Linked DNA regions of Homo sapiens: all the other regions are linked to region 1. The links are contacts of gene promoters, found by promoter capture Hi-C in blood cells and fetal thymus (Javierre and others, 2016). All regions are on one chromosome and are shown on one strand. The core of a region is centred on a gene start or on the middle of the fragment in contact, and the rest is flanking DNA. Distances in the headings are between cores, read along the strand shown. Region 1 holds the start of NIFK (nucleolar protein interacting with the FHA domain of MKI67). Region 2 overlaps CCDC93 (CCC complex scaffolding subunit CCDC93). Region 3 overlaps DDX18 (DEAD-box helicase 18). Region 4 holds the start of INSIG2 (insulin induced gene 2). Region 5 overlaps GYPC (glycophorin C (Gerbich blood group)).

Region 1 (3,403 bases), core at 626-3,125:
AAAAGAAAGTGGGTCACTCCTCCACTATTGAAACAAGCTATGTAAAGCGTTTTCTCATTAGAAGGCAGGTATGACACAAATAGTAATTATACTTATATAGTGTTTATTGTGTACCAAGCAATCCTCTAAAGACTTTATATTTAACCTTTGACTAAATACTCCCAGGAAGTTTTACTTATATTTAACAGATCACAACACTGAAACATGGTAAGGTCATATCACTCTAACTAGTAAGGTGTAGAGCCTGACCCCAAACCTCAGCAGTCCAACTCCAGAGTCCTCACCTTTAACTATTCACTATATAAACCTTTGCTATTATAAGGATGCTTGTACCAAAGGCTAACACAAGAAAATGTATAAACCTGGGCCTCATACTAAAGCTCATTTACCAGGACTGTCAATTTAATGTAAGGATTTGGAGAAATGTAAAAAACAAACTTTTACAATAATACTGATTTTGCTCCTGTAGCTGTTTCAGATTCTAAACCTCCTCCACTCTCCTTTTTGGAATGAAATCTGATAAGCAATAATGTATGCGTGAACGTGCTCTTTAATGTCAAGGATAATACACATTTGAAAAACAAAACATTAAATCCAACTGCAAAAATCTTACCCTTTTACTTCTGGACAGCCTGAACCGTGTCACAGTGCCAAACTGGGAGAAATATGAAAAGATCTGGGTTTCGTCAAGTAGGTTAGGTAGGTGGCGCACATAGACTACTCCAGGAGTAAGTTGTTCTTGTTTTTTTCGCTAAAGACGTAAAGACCAGGTAAATTAAATATATAAATAAGAAAATCACATTGTAACAAAACCCCTAGCCCTCGGCCCAAGAACCTATTCTGCATTTCCACTTACCACAGTAGTAATTAAAGAACTGGCTGTTTAGTGTTTCTCTCCCCACAAAGGCCATGGTCAAGCAGTAGTCAACTATCTTTCCAGCCTGGCATCCCAGCACCCAGTATAATATTAGAGCTCAATAACTATGTCAATCAACGGATAAGCAAGGACATCTTTGAACAAGCCATTTTAGATCTTCTGCCCAGAGAACTCTACATAAACGTAGGCTTCAATTTGGTATGCATATTACTGTTTACTCGCACTTCATCGAAAAATTTTCGATACGCTTGTTAACTCTCACGGTACAGATTAGCCTTTCAACGTCTCAGTCATCATAGCCTTACCTCTGTAACAGGAACTTCTAAGTTTTCCTGTGTATTTTATGCTAAAAACCACAGAAAGTATAAGCGATGTCAGGGGCCCTAGTCAGCAAGTGGAACCTGGCAAATACTCTATTTTAATAACTCCCAGATCACCAACCCGGCATACAAACTTCCCGAATGTGTTAAGTCTGGGGCTCCCATTTTTGGGGGAAACGCGGAAGCGTGACAGCTCTAACCCGGAGATAACCTGTGGTATAGGAGCCTATTCCCTCCAGCTGGTTCTTTCTACTGCTTCTGTCACCCCAATACTTCCCCGTTACCCTCCACATGAAGGCTCCAGGGCCTCAGCGGCCAAACCCCTCCATCATTTACCGAACAGCGTAAACCCTTTCGTCTCGGAAACCGTGGCCTGCAAGCTTAAGAGGTCGGTCCCTGATTCGGTCGAATCCACTTGGGAGACCCTGGAGGTAATGAAGGCGAGCACGAAGGCAAGGGGCGCCCGGGCCGGAAACCGTGCAACCCCAGATACCCTCTAGACCCGGTCCATCGCCCCCGCTCGCAGCCTGGGCCAGGGTGCCTGCTCACCTGGGTTATGCGCTTGCGAACCTGCGCCACCTCCTTTTGAAACTCGACATCTTCCTGCGGATTAAGCGACAGGATTGGCCCAGCCGGGCCAGAAAAAGTCGCCATGCCAAAAGCCGCCGACGCTAACCACGCGGCGCTCCCGGAAACGTCGGGCTCCCAGCTCCCCCGAGGCGGAAGTAGAGGCAGGACAGGGGCGGGGCGAAGCGCTAAGGCGAGGCGAGGCGTGGCGAGGGGCGGGGAGGGCCATGAGTCGGGCGCGGGGTTGGAGCAGGAGTTGCCCGGAGAAGCGGGGGCGGGGCACGGGGTGTGGCGAGGCGCGGGGCGGGGCATAAATTGCGCCAGGGGCGAGGGCGGGGCACGAGGTCGTGCCGAGAGACTGGGAGAGGCGTGAGTCGCGCGGAGGCGCGACATGGGGCGTGACGAGGAGCGGAGGGCGGGGCGTGAGTAGCGCCGAGGCGCGGAGGCGGGGCGCAGGGGCGTGCCGAGGCGCGGCAGCGGGGTCTGGGGCTGGGGCTGGGCCGTGGGGAGCTCCCGCACCCTCGGCTGTCGGGGCGCCGGCTGGCTTCGCTTAAGAGTGCCTGAAACAATTACGTTCACGCCTACTTTCAAAAAAGGTCTAAAATAAATTCCAAAACAGTACCTGTGTCCTTGAGATGCTGCTCTCATTCCTCAATTTGCTTATTATTATTATTATTTTTTTTTGAGACAGAGTTTCGCTTTGGTTGCCCAGGCTGGAGTGCAATGGCGCAATCTCGGCTCACTGCAACTTCCAACTTCCGCCTCCCGGGTTCAAGCGATTCTCCTGCCTCAGTCTTCCGAGTAGCTGATTACAGGCGCCCGCCACCACTCCCAGCTTAATTTGTACGTTACCACTCCCAGCTTAATTTGTATGTTTAGTAGAAACGGGGTTTCACCATGTTGGCCAGGCTGGTCTCGAACTCCTGACCTCAGGTGATCCACCCGCCTCAGCCTCCCAAAGTACTGGGATAACAGGCGTGAGCCACCGCGCCCGGCCCTAATTTGGTTATTCTTTCACTCACTTGTGTGTGAGCTCTCCTGTGTGGCCCCGTCCGTCCGCGGCCCTTGGAGAACTTACAGCCTGAGGGCAGCATGGCTGCTTTAAGAGACCAAAGAGGCTTGTGGGGGAGAGGCACACTGGGTGGCGCCGGAGGGTCCCCCTTAGGAGGTGGCGTTAGCACCGAGGCCTGAAGGCTAAAGAGCGGGGTGTGGAGAACCGAGCGCCTGCCGTCCGCTGGACCGGACAGGCCTGCACAGTGTTCCTAGGTCTAGAAAGAAGGACGCGGCAGTGGGGTTGGAGCCCAGCACAGGAGGGAAGAGCTGCGAGGCGGCAGGCTGGAGCCCCATGACTGTGTGTCAAAGTATGAAACTGGGGTTTTGTAAATGCGAGGGGATGGGCGGGTTTAAAGCGAGGCTGTGGCTGTTTGCATCTTTCTTTTCTTTTTTTTTTTTTGAGACGGAGTCTCGTTCTGTCGTCCAGGCTGGAGTGCAGTGGCGCGATTTTGGCTCACTCACTGCAACCTCCGCCTCCTGGGTTCAAGCAATTCTCCTTCCTCAGCCTCCCGACTAGCTGGGACTACAGGTGCACACCACTACTCCCGGCTAATTTTTGTATTTTTAGTAGAAACGAGGTTTCGCC
Region 2 (3,743 bases), core at 501-3,000, 3.7 Mb before region 1:
TAGATTTCAGAAATATAGACAAGGAATTGAGAAGACATAGAAAAATACTGTGTTCCCATATCTATTAAAAGTATAATGGAATGCTGCCACTGATGGGAGTCTACCATATTCCCTAAGGATATCGAAATGAAAACAGGGCCTAACGACCACTGGAAAACTCAAGGGGAATTTAGGAAAAAAGCACACGTGGGATCCAAGAAATGGTAAAACTAGCACAGAAAAAATGCAATGAAAAGAAATACCAGCACATCAAGAGTGCCACAGGTATAGGAAGCAATCAGCTCAAAGACAGAAGCTTCCAAGAAAAGCATCCTCAAGAAGACAAAGAATTCATGCTAATGAACAGCCTGATTAAGAAGCATAGGCCAGGTGCGGTGGCTCACACCTCTAATCCCAGGAGGCCAAGGCGAGAGGATTGCCTGAGCCCAGGAGTTTTAAGACCAGCCTGGACAAGATGGTGAGACACCATCCCTACAAAAAATTTAAAAATTAGCTGGGCGTGGTGGTGTATGCCTGTGGCTCTAGCTACACAGGAAGCTGAGGTAAGAGGATCACTTAAGGAAGTCGAGGCTGCAGTGAGTGGTGTTGGCACCACTGCACTCCAGCATGGGTGATAAGAGTGAGACTCTGTCTCAAAAAAAAAAAAAAAGCTGGCTGATCTGAGCTACAGCTAAAGGCATATGCTTCTTTTGTCAACAAGAAAAAAACAAAGGCAATTAGAAACTTACAGGGAAAATGCTGTATAAATATAAAGTAAATTGCAACATTCCTGATGCTCAGTTACTCACAGATACCACCTCCACTTGGCTGCCAGAAACACAGGGGCAAATCTTTGGCCAACAGTAGGAAAACAAAGCATTTTGTGACCCATCACTGTGGCAGTCTTACCCCAACTCTGCCTTTTGTCCCCACTTTTTTTTCCCCCTTTGCTCCATTTTCCCACCATTATTGCTTCCTGTTATTTATAAGACCCCTTTGTTCCTTTTGGAAGTGTTTTCTCTTGGGAGAAGGTAATACTTCAGAAAAATGAATAAACAGACTGTCACAGAATCACACATATCTGAGGTCAGGAATCTCTCTTCTGACGGATAAAAGAACTGAGGCCCACAGAAGGAGTGGCTGTTCCAAGGCCACACAGAGACCCACTGGAAGGCTGGGAGAAGAACCAGGTATCCCAAGTGGTCTAATGAAATGGCCAAGCCCCTGGTGAGCTGCTGTGCTACAAAAGACTGGGCAGGGTATGCTCAGGTGAGATCTCTAGCAAGGAGACCATGCTGCTTTCTCTCGAAGACAGGCAAAGTGAGACTCTGCCTTACACAGAGGCAATGGGGAAGGAAAGCATCTCCTTTCCTCTTTCTAATCAACTTCCACTGATATGAGCTGTCTTTGAAAGATAAACTAAGTAGTCACTACAAACTTTGATCTAGCTGTGTGACCTTGGCTTCTTTCAGTCTCAGTTTCATTTGTAAGGCAGGGATAATACCTCTTGTAATAAAAGTTAAAATAAACTATGTAAAGTGTCCAACCAACTTCTGGCACACAGTAGACACTCAAAAGTTAGTTCCCTTCTCCCCACCTTTAGGTTTTCCATAGAAAAACTTACATTTTTTGACCTATCGTAGAGTTTTCTTGAAAGAGCAAATCAACATCTACATCAAAGTTGCAAGTGGTGATACACCAAGTCATTCCTCCTACTACCTGCAAGACATAAAGAAAATATTTGTTTTCTCTTTTTAGTTTGGGGAGAATGGAAGAAGTGGAAGGTAGATGGATTATAAATAGCTCTAATAGACTCAGTAAACATACAAAATTATATATCTTGAGAGAGAGAGTGTGTGTCCTCCTTACCCCATCAAGTACAATTAATCTAAAATGGCACCGTTACAGAAAACTTTCTGCAGTGACAGAAATATTCCGTTATCTGCAAGGACAAGTACAGTAGCTACTAGCCACATGTGGCTGCTGAGCAGTTGAAATGTGGCTGGCATGACTGAGGAGCTGACTTTTATTATTAAATGAACATACTGTACATAGATCCTCTTTATAGTCAAAAGGACAGACATTAATTCTGTGTTTTATAGACCAGACACATGGGCAGCAAGGCTGACATTTTGTTTCCATACATCTTATTTTTCTTATCTACCTGAGAATCCCTGGCTCTACTTTTCCCTCAGGAATTCTCTGAGATGCAAATGAGAGTAAGACTAAAAACCCATTTTGAAACAAAATCCTTTTCAGACACAGCTTGATATTAGAAAAAAATAACAATAAGGCTGGGCGCGGTGGCTCACGCCTGTAATCCCAGCACTTTGGGAGGCTGAGGCGGGTGGATCACGAGGTCAGGAGTTTGAGACCAGCCTGGCCAACGCAGTGAAACCCCTCTCTACTAAAGATGCAAAAATTAGTCGGGCATGGTGGCAGGCACCTGTAATCCCAGCTACTCGGGAGGCTGAGGCAGGAGAATCACTTGCATCCCGGAGGCAGAGGTTGCAGTGAGCCAAGATTGAGCCATTGCACTCCAGCCTGGGCAGCAGAGAGACTCCATCTCAAACAAACAAACAAACAACAACAACAAAAACAGTAAATCTTACCCCTGGCTGCTTTAGACTCTTACAAGTTGCCCAATAAAAATGCAGATTCCAGGGCCCAAGCCCAGACCTAGCTAACCAAAATTTCAATGAGTGAATCCTGGGTTCTGTATTATAAAATAACCCAGAGTGATTCTGTTAGGCACAGCCAGGACTGTGACCCCGTGGAGCACTCAGCACTGTCTTCCACAGCCTGCCCTGTGTGATTTGAATGCGTCCTTTCTGTGCACAGTCCACGGTGGCACTTTCTGCATCATGCCATTTATTCTGTGCATGTTGATTCACTTGTCTCTCATCCCCACTCTACAGAAATTGGGCTCTTTGAGAACTGTGCCTCTGTTTTTTCTCTGTGTCCTCAACACCTATTACTATGATTTGTGCATCATCATTCAAGGTTCTGCTGAATTAAAAGATTTCATTGCATAGCGATCTCTCTCTCATCCTAAATCAGAGCATTTACTATCCGCAGAATATCTGGCAACCGTCTGTGAGCACGCTGACTTGGGATAGCTCATTATTAACTCTGATTATTTTATTTTCCATAAGTTTTATAATCCCCACCCAAACTGTAAATTCCTTGAAAGAAGGAACTATTTATTTTGCTTCTTTGCATTTCCTAAAGCTTTGTGCACAGAAAAGGAACTGACGTATTCACTGATACATCATTTCTGTCTTTGAAAAGAAGTTTGAACACTTCCATAATGAATCTGAATTAGGAAGAAATGGAAACACAGACATGGAAGAAGTTAAAACATCATCTTTTCCTCCTTTCTTTGCCATGATTAACCATGTCATTCTGACAAAAGATAGTGTAATGGTTAGAAAGATTTCCCCTTACCTTGTCAAAGGGTGATAAGCCTTTAATTCTTGCCCTGAAATACCCAGCTGCAACCAAGAGCTCCAGAATTTCAGTCAACTTGACATTTTGTTCTTCATCTTCTCTTGTTTCCACCTAAAATAAAAGGTAAAACTTTGGCTGGTAAAAGATATGCTGAATAAAGGAACACCAGGTATATCCCCTGATGCCACAAGCTCATTGCCAAGGAGTAGATGACATTGGCTACATCACCACAATAGATTCTCTGAAAATTCAGCAAGTGTCACACAGAAGTATGTGGACAGTGTTGTTGGAGTCACAAATGGGTCCGCGGTCCT
Region 3 (3,302 bases), core at 111-2,610, 3.9 Mb before region 1:
CTAAGTAAACTTCTCCTTCTTTGTCACAGTATATGTTCTGTTTATTTAAACAGGGGCCTCAAATCTGACCCTATCGGAAACTCAAAATGGAGATGTATCTGAAGAAACAATGGGAAGTAGAAAGGTTAAAAAATCAAAACAAAAGCCCATGAATGTGGGCTTATCAGAAACTCAAAATGGAGGCATGTCTCAAGAAGCAGTGGGAAATATAAAAGTTACAAAGTCTCCCCAGAAATCCACTGTATTAACCAATGGAGAAGCAGCAATGCAGTCTTCCAATTCAGAATCAAAAAAGAAAAAGAAGAAAAAGAGAAAAATGGTGAATGATGCTGAGCCTGGTAGGTATTTATTATCTTTGAACTTCAGCCATTTAGTTTTTCACAGACGGTTATTGTTCCTCTTTCTATTACTATTGTGTGCACATGACATGAGAATTCCCTGTACTCACCAGTATGTTAGAGATTAGCCTGGTAGCTAATGGAAACATTTTATTGGCAGAAGCGGGGAGTCCATTTCAACTTTTCTCAAAATATTGAGGAATATATTTTTAATTTCACTAACCTTGAAGAAAACCTCTCTCAGAAAAGACTCTCCTTAGAATTCTAGAAATTTTCTCTTCTTTTTAAGTTACCTTTTTTCCTGCTTGATTCTTCCCATTTTCCTTCCATAAATTCCTCCCTTTGAAAGGAATATTAGTTACAAAGTATATAAAGTAGGAAACTTCTGAATAAATGGAACATTAATTTCCAAGTGCTAAGAATGGCAGGAGGAAAAGGAAGGAATGTTTTTTGAAGATGATGGAATTTCAGTAAGCTCGGATGAAAGAATGGACATTATAATTGAGATTTGTATAAGCAGAGATATCAAGGTAGGATAAGATAGGGGTCAGCAAACTATCCCTCCTTCTACCTGTTTTTGTAAATAAAGTTTTACTGGGTCATAGCAATGCCTATTTGGTTGTGTTTATGGCAACAGAGATCATATGACCTGCAAAGCCTAAACTATTTACTATCTGGCCCTTTGCGGAAAGTTTGCCAGCCCCTGAGTTGGAACATCCTATTCATGTATTTTACCTGAAATAAGGGTTTTATTTAGAAAGGGACTTTGAACTTTTCCAAACATGCATTACTGTCTTCATGATGCCTACACACAGAAGTCATTGTAATCCTGTTCTAAAATTATTGCCTTCACAATTCTTGTTTTGAGTATGCCCCAGGAAGTGGTATTATTTCTGCTCCCAAGCATTGAATCACAATGCTGGGCGTTTTAACCTTATGGGTTTTTTGTTTGTTTGTTTGTTTGTTTGTTTTATTATGAGATGGGGTCTCACTGTGTTGTCCAAGCTGGTCTTGAACTCCTGGGCTCAAGTGATCCTCCCACCTCGGCTTCCCAAAGTGCTGGGATTACAGGCAGAAGCCACCACACCCAACCACCTTATGGGTACATTTTAGGAACTATTCCAGGGAAAACAAAATAAGCCATGGAGACCAGCTGAAGATATCTGTGGCTTTTGAACATGTAGGTCCTACAAAGTTGACTCTTTCCTGGAAGGGTGGCCGTCAGGTACAGGGAGGAGACCAGTACTGAGCTACAGAGAGTCCTGGGTTGTGGTCTAAGTTCTTTTCAAACATCACTAATTGCCATATAGTTTTATATAAACACAGCATGTGGTTAATCCATTTGACCCAGAGTCGAACATTGAAAAGAGAAGTGAGAGGTAGGACTGAAAAGGTAGTTGGGGCCACATGAAAGTTGTGAATGTAGAAATGAGGGTGGGAAGAAGCCCTGCCTTTCCTCCCACCCTCATCCCTGATAGCCAAGGCACAGTCCAGTGTATGTCAGCCAGGCAAGTGGGTTGTTGCCCTTCCTTTACAGTCTATCTCTAGTAACATGAAGAGCCTTTGATAGTGATTGGCGTGGGAAGAAAAATGACTACTTATAATGAGTTTTTAAGGATTATGTTAATCAGGTATGCTTCCTTTCCCCTCAGTGGAGTATGTGAAACTTATAATTGGTATGTTTATACTGTTTAGTTGAACAAAAGCCTAAAAGGTTTTGTCACCAAGTCTGTCTGTACCCTGGGTTTTTAAATACAACCACTCATTTTTCACCAAACAGAATTCTTAACAAATTAATACAGCATATACTTAGCTTTTGAAAATATACGTCTTTATATCAGAGATCTTCTGTTTGTTGATCTCATTTGGAATTCTATTTTAAGGAAAAATTTTTTCGGATTTTGTCTTTTAAAACCAAAGATACGAAAAAAGCAAAAACTGAAAACAAAGGGAAATCTGAAGAAGAAAGTGCCGAGACTACTAAAGAAACAGAAAATAATGTGGAGAAGCCAGATAATGATGAAGATGAGAGTGAGGTGCCCAGTCTGCCCCTGGGACTGACAGGTAACGTCCAGGAAGTTTTCTAGAGGTAACTTCTTTAAAATGTGCCTCTCTTAGAGGATTATAGGTTTGAAGGTTCAGTTGTGACTTTCAGTTTACCTGAAAAAAGTAACTATCAACAAGAAACTTTTTTTATATCTTTCTGCTGCTTTTTCTCTTTATCTTCTATTTTGTGGTGTTTTAGTTCTTTTTGTTCCCTGTTTTTTTCCTTTTGTTCATTCCTGACACCAAATATTTTATATGCACACTAGCAGCTTCTAGGATTCCTTGGTTTGTCCTTTTCTGAGTCTCATTCTATGTTGTAATAGGAAAATGATTGGCCCTGTACGAGGTTAACCTCCTTTGGCCTTTGTTCCTTTATAAAGTTGAGTTTAGGCTAGAATTCACTGCTCCTAACCAGATATGTCTAGGAGTTACTTGAGTTGTTTATTTGGTTTGGGTTGGTTGGTTTGTTAAAATGTTGAGGCCCAACCCTAGACCTGCTTAATCCAAATTGCAAACGTTTTGGTAGTAGCTCTCGAGCAGGGAAATTCGCCCCCCGAGTAAGAAGAGTAACTCTTCCTGGTTTGCCCAGAACTTTAACAGTTTTAGCACTGAAAGTTCTGAATCCCAAGAATCTCCTCTGTCCCTAGCCTACTGAGAAGATTGGTCATCCTAAGCCTAGGAGACATTTTTGGTTCTCAGAGCTAGGAGCAGTCTGCTGGGATCTGGTGAGTAGAGGTCAGAAACACTGCATAATATCTTATAAGGCACAGGATAGTGTTTCACAGCAAAGAATTATTCAGCCCAGATGTCAGCAATGCCAAGGTCAAGAGTGATTGGTTTACACCCTGGGCATGTGGAGTATGGGGAACCCCCAGGTGATTTTGATGCCTTCTGCTGAACCACCACTGTATTACTTGA
Region 4 (3,619 bases), core at 913-3,412, 3.6 Mb before region 1:
CCATGTTTCCATAACAAAAATTTAGTCCAAATTCATGAGCCTGATGTTTAGAACTCACATGTCTCACCATACCTCTTTGTACATGCCAGACTCTGCAATCTGTTTCATGTTTTTCCAACTCTGAGCTTCCACCAGAATGCACAGGCTAACCATATCTGCATATTTACCCTCAACGCCCACTGAAAGACCACATCTTCCATGAAAACTTTCCTCAAATCTGGTCAAAGAAGACAATGGCCTTTTGTATTTCTCCTAGGGATTTTATATTCCTCCTTGTACTGCAGTAGGAGTAACTGCATTAGATATAGGAACCTTGGAACTGGTGCTATATGGTTTTTGCTTTTTAGGTTCTGTCACTACTTGCAATTAATACATATTTAAACGAAAATAAATGCCCCTCTAGGTTACAATGTTCCATAAGGATTTTCTTGAAGGCAATTTCTAAGTGTCTGAAAAAAGCTCGGTTGGAGTAGACATGAACTGGACATACAGGACTTGTATTGCTTTAAGGAAATACATGATGTCAGAACATTTTCAAATTATTGTCTCTTTTCTGAATGCTTTCTCTATTCTTTTAAAAATCATCGTCCATTCTGTATAATTGGCCCAGATCTTTCTTACTGGTAGTGTAAAAACTTACAGGAGTGAAATTTGAAAGCTACAGAAAACATTAGAGAAAACACTAAGATATAGGAAATGTTAGAGAAGCATCATGCAAATACTTGCCTAGAAACATTTTGTTGGAATTCAGATTCTTTTTCAATTTTCAGAAGTAAATGTAGATAAAAAGGTCAAAAAACAAAAATCCATCTTATCGTTTATCAGTTCAAAGTAAATGAAAGGAGTTTACCATCTGACAGTCCTTTGGAAAACTATTATGCAATTACTCTCGGCCCAGATTTCATCTAGAACATTCAAGTCCATTGTAATCTTACCACATCCATACACGTTTTGGGTTAAGCCACCTCCAAATGGAATAGCTCAATAACTAATACACTCAAGAGAGATTATTTTTTCTCTCTTTTTAAAAAGAGTTGCTTAAAAAAAACAAATTCAGGGGGCAGCTCACGCCTGTAATCCCAGCACTTTGGGAGGATGAGGCGGGCGAATCACGAGGTCAGGAGTTTGAGACCAGCCTGGCCAATATGATGAAACTCCATCTCTACTAAAAATACAAAAAGTAGGCAGACATGGTGGCATGTACCTGTAGTCCCAGCTACTGGGGAGGCTGAGGCAGAAGAATCACTTGAACCCGGGAGGCAGAGGTTGCAGTGAGCCGAGATCATGCCAGTGCACTCCAGCCTGGGTGACAGAGAGAGACTCCGTCTCAAATAAATAAATAAATAAAAATAAATAAAAATTCAGAATAGGGAAGCAACTCCTCCTTATGACGAGTACCTTTCGGCACTTATATGGGCTTGCTTTTGCATTGATGGCACCACTTTCATTCAAAAAAAAAAGTTCGCTTGCACAATCTGCAAAGATCTGTTTGGCTTGGTTTCATGTTCTAAAAGTATGGTTTTAGATTAAATGAAAAATAATACTTCTGAAAAATAAGCGGTTATAAGGTTTTTAAGTTTTCTTTATGTTGGTGTAAACTTATAAAGCCCTTCCTATGAAAACTGTCCCCCAAATCACATTACTTGGTCGTCCTCGAGGAACGATTTTGAATGAAAAGCACATAAAGTGCTGTAGCATGGAGACGAGAGACAAATAACTATGCCCTTCTCCCAAAATAAGTTATGACTTACTAGGGGAGGAAAAGGAGCAAAGAGTATAAAGCCCGGTCCTCTGCGGGAAGTACCCGGAGGCCTGCCCCGGAACGCGCTCCTTTCGGCTACGAGATGAGGGGCACGCAGACGGACGCGCCCCTCGGTGAGTGTGCGTGTATCAGTGCATGATTCCTTTACTCCGCCCACAGGGTCTGGGCATCCGTCATTACCTACGGCTGCCTGGTCAGCAAACAACAGCAGATCCGACAACCGCCAGTCACCTCGACGGTCCACGCCCACCGCTAGCCTCCAGTTTCCCGCAGACCGGAAGCCCTTTTGCCCCGGCTCGCAGGTCCACGTCTTATTGACAGCAGGAACCGGAAGCTCTTCTGCCCCGATCGCCTGCGCGCGGCCTCGTTGGCCGCACAGGCGCAGTGGAGCTCGGGCGGAGTTGTGGGAGTGGAGGAGGAAGAGGCGGTAGGGGGTACGGGGGCTGGTCCCAGAAGATGGCGGAGGCGGGGGTGAGTTGGGGGTCTCCCGGCGAAGCGCGGGTGACGTGGTGCTGAGGAAAGCGGCCTGAGGAGGAGGGTGGCCCTTGGGAAGAAGAACTACTTGTGTTTTTGCAGCCTGGGAACCCTGGTGGCAGGTGCGGGGAGCCAGGACCACTGATGGGCCTGCAGGGCAAGGGGCTCCGCTTACCTGAGAGGGGTCCGCAAGGTCCAGAAGGGGACTGCGGGATCGGGGAGGGGGTATAGGAGGGGTCGAGGCTCCCCGGACAGTGGATGAGTGTCTGAGCGGGAAGAAGGCTGGAGGACGGCGAGAAGGGCGACCCAATGGTCTGATGAGGTGGAGGTCAGCGAGCTGTCAAGCATAGAGCTGCCAGGACTTGGGGGCTTGTAGCCTGGGAGAGAAGACTCAGACTTGGGCGGGGATTGGATCCAAAGAAGACAGGTTGTCGTAGTAAGTTTATAATCCACTAAGGAGATAGGGCATTGGGTTGAGGAGTAATACTCTGGCATTTTTGACTGGAATTGGTTACCTATGGAATAGGTGTTTCGGTAAAGCCAAATAATTCTTGCCAGGGCCTAGAAGTGGATTTGATGATAATTACTAGATTTTAGGGTTGCTTAGTGGGGATTGGCAATATGGAGAAGGAAAGCAGTGTGGATTATGGGAGTGGGCGCGGGCAATGGCGCTAACACTTAAGTGATAATGACCCATGTCCAGTTAACGTTGGAAAAAGTTGTTAAAGTATGATATTAGCTAGATGCTCTAGGAAAATATACCATGAAGAACTTGCTGTTTTGTAGGATTGATGAAGAAATGCTTTAAAAAGGAATGGTTAGGCTTGGCAGCTGGGCCACTGAAACTGTTTGGTATCAGTATTGCGGTGGAGCTGAGGACTGCAGGGGAATGCGTGCTCCCGTCCTGGTGCAGAAAAAATAAAAGCAGCCAGACAGTAGCTAGATGGTGTTTTGTAACTTTTGGGTTTGGCCCTGATAGTGAACCACTGAATGAAGATGGATGAAGGGAATGCTACTAATGGGGGCCCCAAAGAAAACAAAAATCAGACGTGTGCTCTTCCTGTTTTCTGTCTTTCATTCTTTCCCTGTACTTTGTGCTCAGTACTGTGTTTTGTCATTGTGTTATGTCGTAGTTCTCAGTTCACATCTGCTGTACAGTGACCAAGCTGTGAATCATGTCCACTCGGGAAAGAGGTTGATTCTGTTTAACTGACAACTGTTGCTTTTGCAGATGGTCACACGGAAAAGGAAAGAATAAAATGCAGTTCAGTAGTTTAAAGAGTTTTCTTTGTTCTCAGAAACTTATCTCGAAACGATGGAGTAACTTTTTTAGGCACTGAGATGTGACATTTAAAACCTGTAAGGGGCTGTAAATGCAGCTAA
Region 5 (3,444 bases), core at 228-2,727, 4.9 Mb after region 1:
GAGCTTCTTTTAAAATCAGAAGGAAGGAAATGAACCTCTAAGATCAAATAGTACATTTGCCTTTATACCAGTGCAGCTATACAATATGATTTCTAATATTTGGGAGGAGAAGGGACCCATAAGGTAAAGCACCTTGGCCCATGGAAGTCACCCTGTGACCTGAGCTCAGCCCATTGGAGGTTGAGGGGCTGAAGCCCACTGCCTCTGCTCTCCCTGCCTGAATCTGCCCCTTGCTCCCAGGGCTCTGATCCTCCTCTACGTTGGCAGTCCTGGTTCCTTAGCAGTTCTGTCTGTCACGGGAGGACTCCCTGGGCTGGGCATCTGCAGGGGCAGCCTCTACCTCTCCCTGTGGGACTTCACTAACACAGCTGGAGTAGATGCTAGGGAGGCTCAGGTCATGCACTACTTGCTGTCTTTCTCTCTCTCTCTCTCTCTCTCTCTCTGTGTCTCTCTCATTTTCTGTCTCTATCTTTCTCTTACTCTTTTGGCCTTTTAAGTCAGAAGAATAGGCTACTCTTCACTTACAAGTTTAAAAATAAGTTGTCTTTGCCCTATTTCATTATTGCAGAAGCAATTCATGTTCATTGTAGAATTGTAGGAACAAGATCAAGAGGAAGGATGTAGGAAGAATCTCTATGGGGAAGAGGGTGACTTTGAGATACAATCTCTTGCCCTGATCTGAGCTTTCAGTTACCTAAGGTACAGTACAGTAAGATACTGAGAGAGAGAGAGAGACTAGTTCATATAACTTTTATAGAGTACGTTGTTACAATTGTTTTACTTCATTATTCATTGTTGTTAATATCTTACTGTGTCTAATTTATAAAATAAACTTTATCATAGTTATTCGCATATAGGAAAACTATCATGTATGTAAGGTTCAGTCGTATCTCTGGTTTCAGGCATCCGCTGGGGGTCTTGGAAAGCATCCCCCATAGGTAAGGGGGAACCACCGATTCATGGGACAGATAGATGATCACCCAGTGGCAGCTCGAAGGGAGATTAGGGCACAGATAAGGCTGGAGGACATCAGTGTAAAGAGGCCACCCTGTGAGGGGCCCAGAAGGGAGCCCTGGAGACCCTCTGGGTGCATTGATCACCTCAGATGGGGGCCCAAGGGATGCCGACGCAGGGCAAAGCACTACAGCAGACTCGGCACAGGTGCCTGGGGCTGTGCACGCCCTGGCAAGCGCCCACTCTGCCCTGCTCCGCACCTAGTGAGGACGTGTAACACACACAGTGCCTCCTTTAATGCTGAAGGCATCACACAGATGCAGATATTATTAATTCCAGTTTAGGAAGACAAAAAGTGAGGCTCAAAGAGGTGATTTCCCCAGTGCTTCCCTGTGCATCACTGACACGCTCTCTCCTGGAAGCCAGGTGTGTCTTCCTCCAGCTCTGGGACTCTGCAGCCTGCCCTGCTGGGAGGGGGCTGCCCATGACCCCTTGCCCTTCTGCTCAGATCGTTACAGCCCTGAGGTCGCTCTCCTGGCCTCTGAAGAAAAGGCCTTTCTTTGTTCCCCCCACACCCGGAACCACTTGTGTTCCCTCTGCCGTCCTCCGCAGGCACCCACCTGTGTCCCAGCAGCTGCGAATGCAGTGCTCAGAGTGGTACACAAGGGCTGGGTTGTGACAGTCCTGCCAGCCCAGGCCAACCCACTCTTCCCCCGGGGAAGGAGTGGGCAGCTGCCTCCCAAGGTCACTACAGGGGCACTGGGAGAGAATAATGCCCCCACCAACTCCTGGCCAATTCCTGGAATGCCTCCACCGTGGAACCACCCCTGGGCTGGCAACTTTATTCTGTGTTAAAGTACAACAAGCCAGCCGGAGGATCATTGTCACTGCATGACTGCAATTTCTGTTACACTTTGCTAGGCACTTTCAAATCTGTTTCCACTCTTCATTCGAGACATACTAGTCTCCCTCTTTTGCAGGTAAATAAAGCAGACCTCAGGAAAGTTCAGTGACTTGGCAGAATTTACACAACCAGGTTGCAATAGAGGAGCCAGACTGGACCAGTCCTCGGTCCCTGTCTCCTTTGTGAGTGTACTGTTCAGGCCACTGAAACTCATTCATCATTCTTAAGTGGGAGGGGCTGAGGCTGAAGAGTCATTGCAAGTAAGAAACTGTGATGCTGGCCTTCCATTCTCCTGCCCCCCTCCCCTCCCTCCCTACACACACACACACACACACACACACACACACACACACACACACACACATATGCACGCACACACACAAGCACACACACATTTCTTCCTACACACCATCTCCTTGCGTTTCTTAGCAGCAGACAGGTATCAGCCCCAGACCTGAGGCAGACACTTGGGGATCTGGTTCGGGACAGGGCAGACAGGCATTTGGTGCATGGATCCTACTGACCTCCCAGAGATAACTAGAAACAAATGTAAGAACTGCTGCCTACAACATCTTTTGGCCTTGGGTGTTAGGTGCCACATGCTTTTGAAACTTTTTCTACTCCACTATTTTTAGGACTCTGTTCCCACTTCTTTGCTCAGTGTAGAGCATCTGCCATGTAGAATATCTCCTCATAGCCTCTTCTGTCTGCTTGTCACTCAAGGTCATTGTAGCCATCAGACCCCACCTAGCAGACAGAGGATTTAGAGACAGAGGATTTAGAGATACGTGGATTTAGAGAATTCAGCAAGGCTGTTTTGCTTATTTTTGGTTTGGGTTCAGCACTAAGTCTCCCATACCCTTCTGCAATGAATCCCTCTGGAGTGTATCAGTAAAGAAAACAGAAACAACCTTCCCCAATCATACCCCAGCAGTTAAATATTTGGGTCAGTTTCCAGACATGACTCCTACATGCATTGCCTATCACATGATCTGGATATCTTTTTTTTTTCTTTTTTTTTTTTTTGGAGATGGAGTCTCGCTCTTGTTGCACAGGCTGGGGTGCAGTGGCATGATATCGGCTCACCACAACCTCTTCCTCCCAGGTTCAAGCAATTCTCCTGCCTTAGCCTCCCGAGTAGCTGGGATTACAGGCATGCACCACCACGCCTGGCTAATTTTATATTTTTAGTAGAGACGGGGTTTCTCCATGTTGGTCAGGCTGGTCTCAAACTCCCGACCTCAGGTGATCCGCCCGCCTTGGCCTCCCAAAGTGCTGGGATTACAGGCATGAGCCACCACGCCTGGCCTGTGGAGTCCTTTTCTAAGTTCCAAGTCTGCAGGGACCTCTTGTGTAGCAGGTGACCTGAGCCCTGAGCCTTGAACTTTTCATCCACTTATAGTGAATACAGTCAAGAGCCCCACCATTCAGATCATCCCAGTCCAATCTGATGCATTTGATTTTAATCCAGGGAGTCCCTACTGCATGCAAGGTGCTGCACAGGAGACATAAAGGGACAAAGACCATATCTTCAAAGGGGCTTCAGCCTAGTAAGGAAGGGGAGATCCAGGAGCATCAGAAAACAG

What was found. Contacts are between HindIII fragments. The CHiCAGO score rates a contact against its expected background, and 5 or more counts as called.
Region 2: a fragment that was not itself captured here is called in contact with the fragment with the promoter of NIFK in region 1 in 2 of 17 cell types (total CD4 T cells and naive CD4 T cells); the score reaches 5.7 in total CD4 T cells.
Region 3: a contact is called between a fragment that was not itself captured here and the fragment with the promoter of NIFK in region 1, in 2 of 17 cell types (non-activated CD4 T cells and total CD4 T cells). The highest score is 14.1, in non-activated CD4 T cells.
Region 4: the fragment with the promoter of INSIG2 here is called in contact with the fragment with the promoter of NIFK in region 1 in 1 of 17 cell types (neutrophils); the score reaches 7.2 in neutrophils.
Region 5: a fragment that was not itself captured here is called in contact with the fragment with the promoter of NIFK in region 1 in 3 of 17 cell types (naive CD8 T cells, non-activated CD4 T cells and activated CD4 T cells); the score reaches 6.6 in naive CD8 T cells.

What each region holds. Positions count from the first base shown.
Region 1 is chr2:121,735,000-121,738,402 of GRCh38, forward strand. NIFK (nucleolar protein interacting with the FHA domain of MKI67) reads right to left here and starts at 1,876. Exons shown (of 7, transcript NM_032390.5): 1 at 1,747-1,876; 2 at 614-751. The coding sequence starts at 1,851. RefSeq lists an enhancer at 1,763-1,812 and a silencer at 1,913-2,362. The HindIII fragment of the contact is 3,379 bases long and covers 1,576-3,403 here.
Region 2 is chr2:118,005,119-118,008,861 of GRCh38, forward strand. It overlaps CCDC93 (CCC complex scaffolding subunit CCDC93), which reads right to left. Exons shown (of 24, transcript NM_019044.5): 2 at 3,427-3,540; 3 at 1,604-1,698. Among named protein-coding and RNA genes, the nearest start is that of CCDC93, 7.1 kb to the right of the region's middle. The HindIII fragment of the contact is 2,915 bases long and covers 294-3,208 here.
Region 3 is chr2:117,817,391-117,820,692 of GRCh38, forward strand. DDX18 (DEAD-box helicase 18) reads left to right here. Exons shown (of 14, transcript NM_006773.4): 2 at 54-338; 3 at 2,259-2,402. Among named protein-coding and RNA genes, the nearest start is that of DDX18, 4.4 kb to the left of the region's middle. RefSeq lists silencers at 3,194-3,243, 3,254-3,302. The HindIII fragment of the contact is 4,634 bases long and covers 1-3,302 here.
Region 4 is chr2:118,086,309-118,089,927 of GRCh38, forward strand. INSIG2 (insulin induced gene 2) reads left to right here and starts at 2,163. Exons shown (of 6, transcript NM_016133.4): 1 at 2,163-2,233. It overlaps LOC107985940 (a long non-coding RNA gene), which reads right to left and starts at 2,123. Exons shown (of 3, transcript XR_001739662.3): 1 at 1,943-2,123. RefSeq lists enhancers at 1,868-1,917, 1,928-2,117. The HindIII fragment of the contact is 7,859 bases long and covers 1-3,619 here.
Region 5 is chr2:126,664,536-126,667,979 of GRCh38, forward strand. The region is part of intron 1 of GYPC (glycophorin C (Gerbich blood group)); the gene reads left to right. Among named protein-coding and RNA genes, the nearest start is that of GYPC, 10 kb to the left of the region's middle. RefSeq lists an enhancer at 7-166 and a silencer at 2,091-2,140. The HindIII fragment of the contact is 7,282 bases long and covers 1-3,444 here.